Regions from separate parts of the Homo sapiens genome. Here region 1 is linked to region 2. Evidence: promoter capture Hi-C in 16 types of primary human blood cells and fetal thymus (Javierre and others, 2016). All regions are on one chromosome and are shown on one strand. The core of a region is centred on a gene start or on the middle of the fragment in contact, and the rest is flanking DNA. Distances in the headings are between cores, read along the strand shown.

Evidence for each region. The method cuts DNA at HindIII sites, captures the fragments that hold promoters and counts their contacts. A CHiCAGO score of 5 or more calls a contact.
Region 1: a contact is called between a fragment that was not itself captured here and the fragment with the promoter of CPA1 in region 2, in 1 of 17 cell types (endothelial precursors). The highest score is 5.7, in endothelial precursors.

The regions. Positions count from the first base shown.
Region 1 is chr7:130,688,882-130,693,816 of GRCh38, forward strand. No RefSeq gene overlaps it. Among named protein-coding and RNA genes, the nearest start is that of TSGA13, 4.8 kb to the left of the region's middle. The HindIII fragment of the contact is 3,861 bases long and covers 838-4,698 here.
Region 2 is chr7:130,377,082-130,381,743 of GRCh38, forward strand. It overlaps CPA1 (carboxypeptidase A1), which reads left to right and starts at 3,413. Exons shown (of 10, transcript NM_001868.4): 1 at 3,413-3,504; 2 at 4,017-4,098; 3 at 4,549-4,662. The coding sequence starts at 3,440. RefSeq lists an enhancer at 3,020-3,541. The HindIII fragment of the contact is 6,032 bases long and covers 64-4,662 here.

The DNA of each region.
Region 1 (4,935 bases), core at 1,518-4,017, 310 kb after region 2:
TGAGTTAATGGAGGTGCAAGTTACCAAATTAGAGAACAAAGGGAATGGAGCAAGTTTGGGGGATAAATGATGAATTTTGTTTCTGGTCAGTTGAGTATGAGGCAGAGGTGAGGATGTTGTCTAGTAAGTAGTTTAAAATATGGGACTGGAGCTCAGGAGAGACAGGTTTGGTACTATAGATTGAATGTTTATGTCCTCTGCCTCCCTAAATTCATATGTTGATACTGAGTCCCTAATTATGAGGGTATTAGGATGTGGAGCCTTTGTGGGGGCAATTAGTGCACTTATAGAAGTGGCTTCAAAAGCACATCTTTACTCCTTCTGCCATGTGAGGACACAACAAAAAGCCGGTCCTCACCAGATACTGAATGTGCCAGCACCTTGATTTTGGACTTCCCGGCCTCTGGAACTGTGAGAAATAAATTCCTGTTGTTTATAATCCACCCAGTTTATGGTATTTTGTTATAGCAGCCTGAACAGACTAAGCCATTTGGGTAGAATTATGCATTTGGAAGTCAGCCTCAAGCATTATGTGCTAATTGAAGCCATTGGACTAGATAAGATCAAGTAGGAAAAATGGTGGACTAACAAGAGACTAAAGCATAGAACCATGCCCCAGACTATGTAAACATCCAAAAAAGAGCATCATAAATGAATTTTGTAAAGAACATGGAAAAGGAGTGGCCAGAGATTGAAAGAGAACTAGGAGGAAGTGGCCACAGGTGGGATGATATCATTGGAAGGGATGCTATTATGAAAAAGGAAACAAATTTTTTAGCTTCAAGCAGCAAGTTTTGAAGGTATAGAAAAAGATTAAAACTTGCAAAAATGACCAAAAGCTTAATAAGCAATCCAATGCTGCCACTTATAAGGCAGATAAATCTAGACTGAAAAAAACCTACAAGGCTTGGGTTCATGGAAATGCCAGGATTTGCTTGAAGAAACAGAGACCATCTGGTAAAAGAGAATGTGAATCCCCATTGTTTGTCTTCTTTTTTCAGAGATACAGGGGCTGCATTGATCAAAACTCAGGGCGATCCTCCCTGCCTACTACTCCTTGGGTGTTGATCTATGACAGGGCCTAAGAACAGCTCCCCCTTATCCCTTCACCTACATAACTTTCCACATTCAGATGGAGACTTCACACCCCAGGTAACAGCTGGGCAGGGAGGACAGGGTGCTGGGGTGGCACAGTGCATTCTGAGAGATGTGACCTCAGGAGCAAAGAGCAGGAGGAAGGGCACAAGATGGGAGGAACTGTTTTTTTGAACAGTTTTGTCCTCTTTTCTCATTTCTAACTGTTTATAAAATAGAAACGGCTACCTTTATGGAAGTATTGGTATGGAAAGTAAGGAAGTGTGGAAAGAAGCATCTACCCTTCATGAAAAAAGGTAGTGGCACAGAATGCCAAGCAAGGGTAGTTTGCCCCATTTTTGTCTTCTTTCATTCTTTCTTTTTCTTTCTTTCTTTCTTCTTCTTTCTTTCTTTCTTTCTTTCTTTCTTTCTTTCTTTCTTTCCTTCTTTCTTTCTTTCTTTCTTTCTTTCTTTCTTTCCTTCTCTCTCTCTCTCTCTCTCTCTCTCTCTCTCTCTCTCTCTCTCTTTCTTTCTGTCTTTCTTTCTTGCATTTTCAGACAGGGTCTCATTCTGTTACCCAGGCTGAAGTGCAGTGGCATCATCATAGGTCACTGCAGCTTCAAACTCCTGGGCTCAGGCACCCACCCACCTCAGCCTCCTGAGTAGCTGGGACTACAGGCATGCACCACCATGCCCAGCTTTTTTTTTTTTTTTTTTAAAGAGACATGGTCTCACTGTGTTGCCCAGGCTGGTCTTGAAATCCTGGCCTCAAACAATCTTCCTCTCTCAGCCTCCCAAAGTGCTGGGATTACAGGCATGAGCTACTATACCTAGCCACTCTTCCTTCCTTCTTTCCTTTCTCTCCTTCCTTCCTTCCTTCTTTCCTTCCTTCTTTCTTTCCTTTTTTTTTTTTTTTTTTTTTTTTGATGGAGTCTTGCTGTGTCACCCAGGCTGGAGTGCAGTGGCATGATCTCGGCTCACTGCAAGCTCCACCTCCTGGGTTCACACCATTCTCCTGTCTCAGCCTCCCAAGTAGCTGGGACTACAGGCACCCACTACCACGCCTGGCTAATTTTTTGTATTTTTTTAGTAGAGGTAGGGTTTCACCGTGTTAGCCAGGATGGTCTCGATCTCCTGACCTCGTGATCTGCCCTCGGCCTCCCAAAGTCCTGGTATTATAGGCGTGAGCCACTGTGCCCGGCCCACTCTTTCTTTCTTAAACAGCCTGCTGGTGACACATGAAGCTCTTGCTTTCTTGAGGAGAGGCCTATCATTTATCAGTGGCTGGGTAAATCTTTCCAGTTCAGGGGGATGTTTTAGGAAGCCCAATGTATGTTCAGGCCCCAGCCAGTCTCCAAACCAACTTCTAGCAGAAAGCTGATATTCTGAACTTACCAGATTTTTGCATGTGTTTACTAACTGCTTCAGAACCGGTAAGGGAAAGAGATGTAATTGGCACCTCAAATATTACTTTTGCACCAACCTAAATCAACATCCTGACTACAGTGAATGCTACAACTGTTATTTTACATAGTCTACATAGACTCAGATACCAGAGAATATGTAAGTAGGAATTTGAGAAAGTTATCTCCCCAGCAAAGCAAAAAATGAAAGCCAGATAGAAACTGGGGACTGGGCAGGGAGGTTTGCCTAGCAACCTGCCCTCCATCTCTGGTAAGAAAGCAGGAGCAGAGTTTATAAATTCATTAATCTCATGTATTGACCAACACCAAGACTCAACAAAGCTAGCATTATTCAGAGATGAATGAATGGAAAATGATTTTTAGGGCTAATGCATTTTATGAGGAGTAGAATATAGCAGCAGCAATAGCTGCTCTGGCAAGAATAGGGAGCTAAGAAGCTGCCAGAAGTGGAGGAATACAGAGAAGAGCAGGAGGCTGGGAATCTGGGAATTAGGAATCAAGGCCATCCAATTTTTCTGTAGATTTGTCTATTAAAAATGTGGGGAAATCTACTTACGAAAGTGGAAGCTGTCTCTCCACTCAGTACTTACATTCAATTTAGCACTGGAGTGTCAGGAAAATGGGGACCAAAGGAGAAACAAAACTGGGTGGGGGGGAAATGAGGTTTTAAATGTACAAGATGGACAGCAAGGGATAGAAGGTGGTCTCAGGAAAAACTCTGGGACTGAAGATGCCCAACATGGCAAATTTCTGAATGTTTCCAACATGGCGGGATGATACATGAAGGAGCAGTGGATATGCATCCCCATTCAGACATTCTCTGCCGACAGCAGTGAGAAATCCCATGTCTTCTCCTCCTCTTTTTTTTTAACTTTTATTTTAAGTTCAGGGGTACATGTGCAGGATGTGCAGGCTTGTTACATAGGTAAACATGTGTCATGGAGGTTTGTTGTACAGATTATTTCATCACCCAGATATTAAGCCTAGTATCCATTAGTTATTTTTCCTGATCCTCTCCCTTCTCCCACCTTCCACCCTCTGATAGGCCCCAGTGTGTGTTGTTTCCCTCTGTGTGTCCATGTGTTTTTATCATTTAGCTCCCACTCATAAGTGAGAACATACTGTTTTTGGTTTCCTGTTTCTGTGTTAGTTTCCTAAGGATGATGGCCTCCAGCCTCATCTATTTCCCTGCAAAGGACATGATCCCATTCTTTTTCATGACTGCATAATATTCCATGGTGTATATGTACCACATTTTCTTTATCCAGTCTATCACTGATGGGCATTTAGGTGGATTCCATGTCTTTGCTATTATGAATAGTGCCACAATGAACATGTATGTGCATGTGTCTTTATAATAGAACGATTTATATTCCTTTGGGTATATACCTGGTAATGACATTGCTGGATCAAATGGTATTTCTGTCTTTAGGTCTTTGAGGACAGTGTATAAGCATTCCTTTTTCTCCACAATCTTGCCAGAATCTGTTATTTTGTGACTTTTTAGTAATAACCATTCTGACTGGTGTGAGATGATATCTCATTGTGGTTTTAATTTGCATTTATCTAATGCTAAGTGATGTTGAATTTAGTAAACAGACAACCTACAGAATGGGAGAAAATTTTTGCAAACTGAAAATTATGCATCTGACAAAGGCATAATACCCAGAATCTATAAGGAACTTAATATACAAGAAAAAACAAACAATCCCATTAGCTGGGCATGGTGGTGCGTGCCTGTAATCTCAGCTACTCGGGAGGCTGAGGCAGGAGAATCGCTTGAACCAGGGAGTCGGAAGCTGTGAGCCGAGACTGCGCCAGTGCACTCCAGCCTGGCAACAGAGCAACAGAGCGAGATTCCATCTCAAAAAAAAAAAAGGGTGGACAAAGGACATGAACAGACACTTCACAAAAGAAAACATACACATGGCCAACAATCATATGAAAAAAAAAGTAGCAAATTCTTAGCTTTTAAGTTCAAGTATCAAGGACTCAATTGTAAGACAGACTGATTTAGGAAAATAGATATGATCAATTCAGATGCCTCTGTCTAACAAAGAAGACAGTTTGTTAGTATTACAGGTTTCTACCCTGATAGGGGAGATGTAGTGTCACAACTGAGTCACAACTGAATGTCATAATTGAGTCTACCCACAAAAGGTGGACCCCAGCAACTACCACTAATTTATTGGCATCTTGAAGCTTCTCCCCAACCTCATACTTTTTCTTTAAATTTTTTATCTTTAATTCTTGTGGGTACATAGTAGGCATATGTATTTATGAAGTACATGAAATGTTTTGATACAGGCATGCAAAGCATAGTAAGTAATCACATCATGGGGAATGGGGTATCCACCCCCTCAAGCACTTATCCTTTGTGTTACAAACAATCTAATTATATTATTAGTTATTTAAAAATGTACAATTAAGTTATTAG
Region 2 (4,662 bases), core at 2,163-4,662:
ACAGACCTGACAGTATCCAGAAAAAGGTGCCCTCTTTTGGGGAGTGGGGCAACCTTTTCTAGAAGCTTCCTCACGGGCCTCCTCTCATGTCTGATTGGTAAAGCTGGGTCATGTGCCCACCTTTAAACCAGTGACTTGCAAAAGCCAATGAGATCTCTTCAATTGTCTTAGACCAGTCAGAATTTGTCCCTGAGCTGGCAATGGCAGTGTTTCTGGGGGCGGATGCCGACATACAATCTGGTTTATTTAGCAGGGAAGAAACAGGGAGGGATGCTGTGGGCCACAGTCAGCGTGGCTGCTGCAGGCCTCCCACTGTTTGCGTTCTGGCACTTGCCCGTGACTCATTCTTGAATCTAGATCCCAGCCTGGTGGCTTCTTTCTCATGGTGATAGGTCCTGGTGCTATACTTACCCAGCCCTCGGCCCAGTGGCCTCCATGTTTGCCCTTGCCTTGCTTGGACCAATGTGAAACCATCACATGGAGTGGGAAGGCCCTCTGACCTAGGTTACATTCCAGCAAATTGGCCTTTACCAAGAGGTACATTTTTGGCTTCCTGAGGTGGCCGGGAGGGGCCCGAAGCATGAGGCTTAGCCCGCACCTGAGACCCAAATTCCTCTGCCATGATGCTGCCCACTTTCTGCTGAACTTGTAGCATCGAATTCATCCTTTCCAGCCTTGCAAAAAAATATATTATATGACTCTTGGGCATCGTAAATTGCTGGCTGGAGGTACAAGAGGCTCCCTTGGTGAGTCTGCACCCTCTCCCCCAGGCCGCCCTCTTTTTCAGAGGTGTCGTCTTTTCTGGAAGGAATTCACAGAAGGCCCAAGAACCAGCCAACATCCCCCAACATGTGTAGTGTGAGCAAAAGAGATTCAAAATTATAGGACAGCTTCATATTTAGGAATAGAAAAAGAAATATTGTTTTTATAATGCAAACTAAATAAAGACCCTACAAAACCTTCCTTCCCCATGGGGAGCAGGGTAGAGAAGCCCGAGGACTCTGTGGGGCACCAGGAAATGAGGAGTAGGGAAGACATGGCTCCTGGCCTGGGGTAATTTAATTTTTTTTTAATGTTTTAATTTCCTTTTTAACTTTTTAGAGAGATGGGATCTCACTCTGTTGCCCAGCCTGGGGCAATCATGGCTAACTGCAGCCTTGGACTCCCAGGCTCAAGAGATCCTCCCGTCCCAGCCTCCCAAGTAGCTGGGACTACAGGCGCCACCACGCCCAGCTAAGGAAGTTTACAGTCTCCATGGAGAGACAAAAATAACATTTTAGGAGCAACGAAGAAGAAATCAATGTAAGTTTGTGTTCAAGCACTAAATAGCGTGATGAACACCCTTCCCCACCTGGCAAAATCCTATCATAAGACCTAAGTTAAGCTGGGCTCAAGCCTATAATCCCAACCAACACTTTGGGAGGCCAAGGTGGGAGGGTTGCATGAGCCCAGGAGTTCAAGACCAGCCTGAGCAACATAGTGAGACTCCATCTCTACAATAAAAATTTTAAAATTAGCCAAGTGTGGTGGTGCACACCTATAGTCTCAGCTACTCGGGAGGCTGAGGTGGGAGGACCGCTTAAGCCCAGGAGGTTGAGCCTACAGTGAGCCATGATGGTGCCACTGCTCTCCACAGCCTGGGTGACAGAGCAAGAACTTGTCTTAAAAAAAAAAAAAAGGCCTAGGTCAAATGTCACCTTCTTGGTAAAGTCTTCCCTGGACTTTGTGCCATAGTGTGTGTCCTTTTAGCCCTCATGGTACTTTTCATACCACATCACATCCCTGTTTAGGTCTCTTGCAGGGAGGAGAACAGTCCCCAAAAGTCCTTTGCACGTCTAATCCCTTATTGGTGACAGCTTCTTGGAGGACCTGTTAGAGGACCAACAAGTTAGTTGGTTACTTCTGTCTTCCCGCCTAGACCGTGAGCTCCCTGAGGTCAGCGAACATCTGTATTGGGTGTCGTGTCCATGTGGAGCACAGTACTTGGCCCAGAAGAATAAGTATTGATTGAATACATCGACAAAGGGGTGAGCATTTAGAGAAGGAGCAGACAGGTGAGCCAGGAAGCAGCCAGAAGAAGCTCCAGGGAGCACTGCAGCCCTGCCAGAGGCGGGTGGGGCCAGCAAGGCTGTACAGGGGAGAGCAGGAGCTGCCGCATAGGCTCCACATCTGTTAAAAGCGGGTTTAGGGCTTTCTCACCTTCCTAGAGTTAGGTTTGGGAGATAGTTGTGGATAAATATAAGGGGGTCACTCTGTCTTGGTGTGGGAGGGTTGGCCAGCTAGGGGGTAGGGTAGGAGGCAGTGGGAGTGAATAGAAACTAGAACGGGCACTATGGCTCTCACCAGTGCCCAAGGTCGGGGTCCTGACACAGAGCAGAGCCTCTAGATGGTGCTGGGAAAGCCCTGGGGGGCCCGTGAATGAGGATGGATTTGTGGGATTTGTGATGGATTTGTCTCTAGGGTGAGATCAGCATCCAGAACCCAGTGAATTCCCCTGTGTGGGTTCCAGTTTCTCCTGGACACTGTGCAGTCCTCACAGGGGTCTGGCCCTGGCTCCCCCCGCCACACTTGCTATTCAGACGACATCTGGTTACTGTTCCCATGAAGGGCAACCCCGACCTCGGGGCCCTGTACTGGTGGGGGTGGAGGGAAATGCTGGCAAGGGTTGGGCTCCTGACCCTGCTGCTGCTGCCCGGGCTGGACTCCCACAGGACCCTAAGGCCAGCAGGAGGGGGCTGGGAAGTCCCACAGAGGGACTGCCCCGCACAGGGCCGGGGCAGCCTGGACAAAGCCGGTGTGGTGACAGGCCAAACCGACGCAAAAGGTTAGTCCACCCTGCTGGTCTCTCCAAGGCATCAGGGTCCGTGGGAGGAGGAGGTGTCCGGCACTCCGCAGGTATCTGTGCTTCACACAGGTCTAATGGGGGAGAGCCTGGGCCTGCCTGAAGCTGCCTTGGGGACAAGAGAGGGCAGAAGCCCCACTTGCTCGATCACCGGAATGAAAGGCTGGCACTCAGGAGCACGGAACAAGGAGACGCCTGGAATGAGGCCCCAGCAGGAGTGGCTGCTTGGAGTCCTGGCTCCTTCTCCGCTACCCAGTGGGCAAACAGAACCGCAGCTTTAGGGTGTGGGCAGGCAGAGTCCTGGCTGGGACTCCAGGAGGCCTCGAGCCCCCGCTGACCCTCAGGCCCCGCTGGCCCCAGATGGTCGGGGGTGGAGCTCTGGCTTATCTCTCCAGCTGCCCAGTTCCCTGCCACTTTATCATGGAGGGTGAGAGGGTGTCAGAGCTCAGAACTCCCACCCCAGCCTCCCCGTGGGACAGGACCCAGGTGCTGGGGGAGAACAGACCTCGGGAGCAGCCAGGAGTCCTCGGTCCTGGGAGGGTTTAAAAGCCAGGGGGCCGTCTCGACCTCAGTCTGACCTTCCCTCCCGGCAGCAGCATGCGGGGGTTGCTGGTGTTGAGTGTCCTGTTGGGGGCTGTCTTTGGCAAGGAGGACTTTGTGGGGTAGGGATGTGGAGAGGAGGGGGTGCCCTCTGAGGGTGATGGGGAGGACTCAGCCCCCAACCAGTAGAGGAGACAGACAGACAGATACATGGCAACACAGCCAGAGAGGATGGCCTGGCACCACCTGGGACAGCTGGCAGATAAGCAACCAGGGTTGGGAAGAGGTTGTGTCTCCCAAGACAGTCTCCTGAGCCCTGGAGAAACCTGAGCTCTGAGGAGGAGTTTTCAGGAGAGGAGAAAGGAGGAGGCCTGGCTGGCTTGGAACAGAGAAATAGTCCAAACTGGGATTGAGATAGTAACAGCGTCTAGAAGTTTCTAAAGATGGGGAGAGAAGAGGTGAGGGAGCCCAGGCCTCTCCTTGTTGAGACCCTTGGTGCTGTCCCCTGCCCAGCCCAGAGGACGAGGCCCAGTCTGGGGATTCTGGGCTGCTGCCTCCCTCCTGCACCTGGGGAGTGCTTGTGGCCAGGGCAGGTGCAGCTTGGGTGCTCACTCCCCACTCCCACTCTGCCCAGGCATCAGGTGCTCCGAATCTCTGTAGCCGATGAGGCCCAGGTACAGAAGGTGAAGGAGCTGGAGGACCTGGAGCACCTGCAGGTCAGAAGAGGGGAGAAGGGCTCTCTGAGGCCCCAGGGTATCAGCTGGGGCCACCCCAGGTCCCCAGCGGCCAACTGTGCCTGGGCTGTCTCCACCCAACAAGGAGACATGGAATTGACTCTGTTAGGAAGCGACTTCAAGCCCCCAGCTCCAGAGCCTTGCTGCCCTTGAGCACCTGGGCAAGGGGCCGGGCCCCTTTCCAGTTCCTCCCTCTGCCTTGCTGTCTCAAAGGCCCCTCACTCTGCTCCTGGGCCATTTCCCTGACCACACTGGACTCTCCAGTCCCCAGGGTTTCCCCGTATTTCTCTGGCCCTATTACCCCTGACCTATCCCCAATTATATGAGAACTTCTGGCACCAACAGCCCCTCCCACGCAGGCCCTGTCCCTGCCTGCTGTCCTGGCTGGTGCCCCCAGCCCGCTGTGACCGTGCCGGCTCTTGTCCTCCCCAGCTGGACTTCTGGCGGGGGCCTGCCCACCCTGGCTCCCCCATCGACGTCCGAGTGCCCTTCCCCAGCATCCAGGCGGTCAAGATCTTTCTGGAGTCCCACGGCATCAGCTATGAG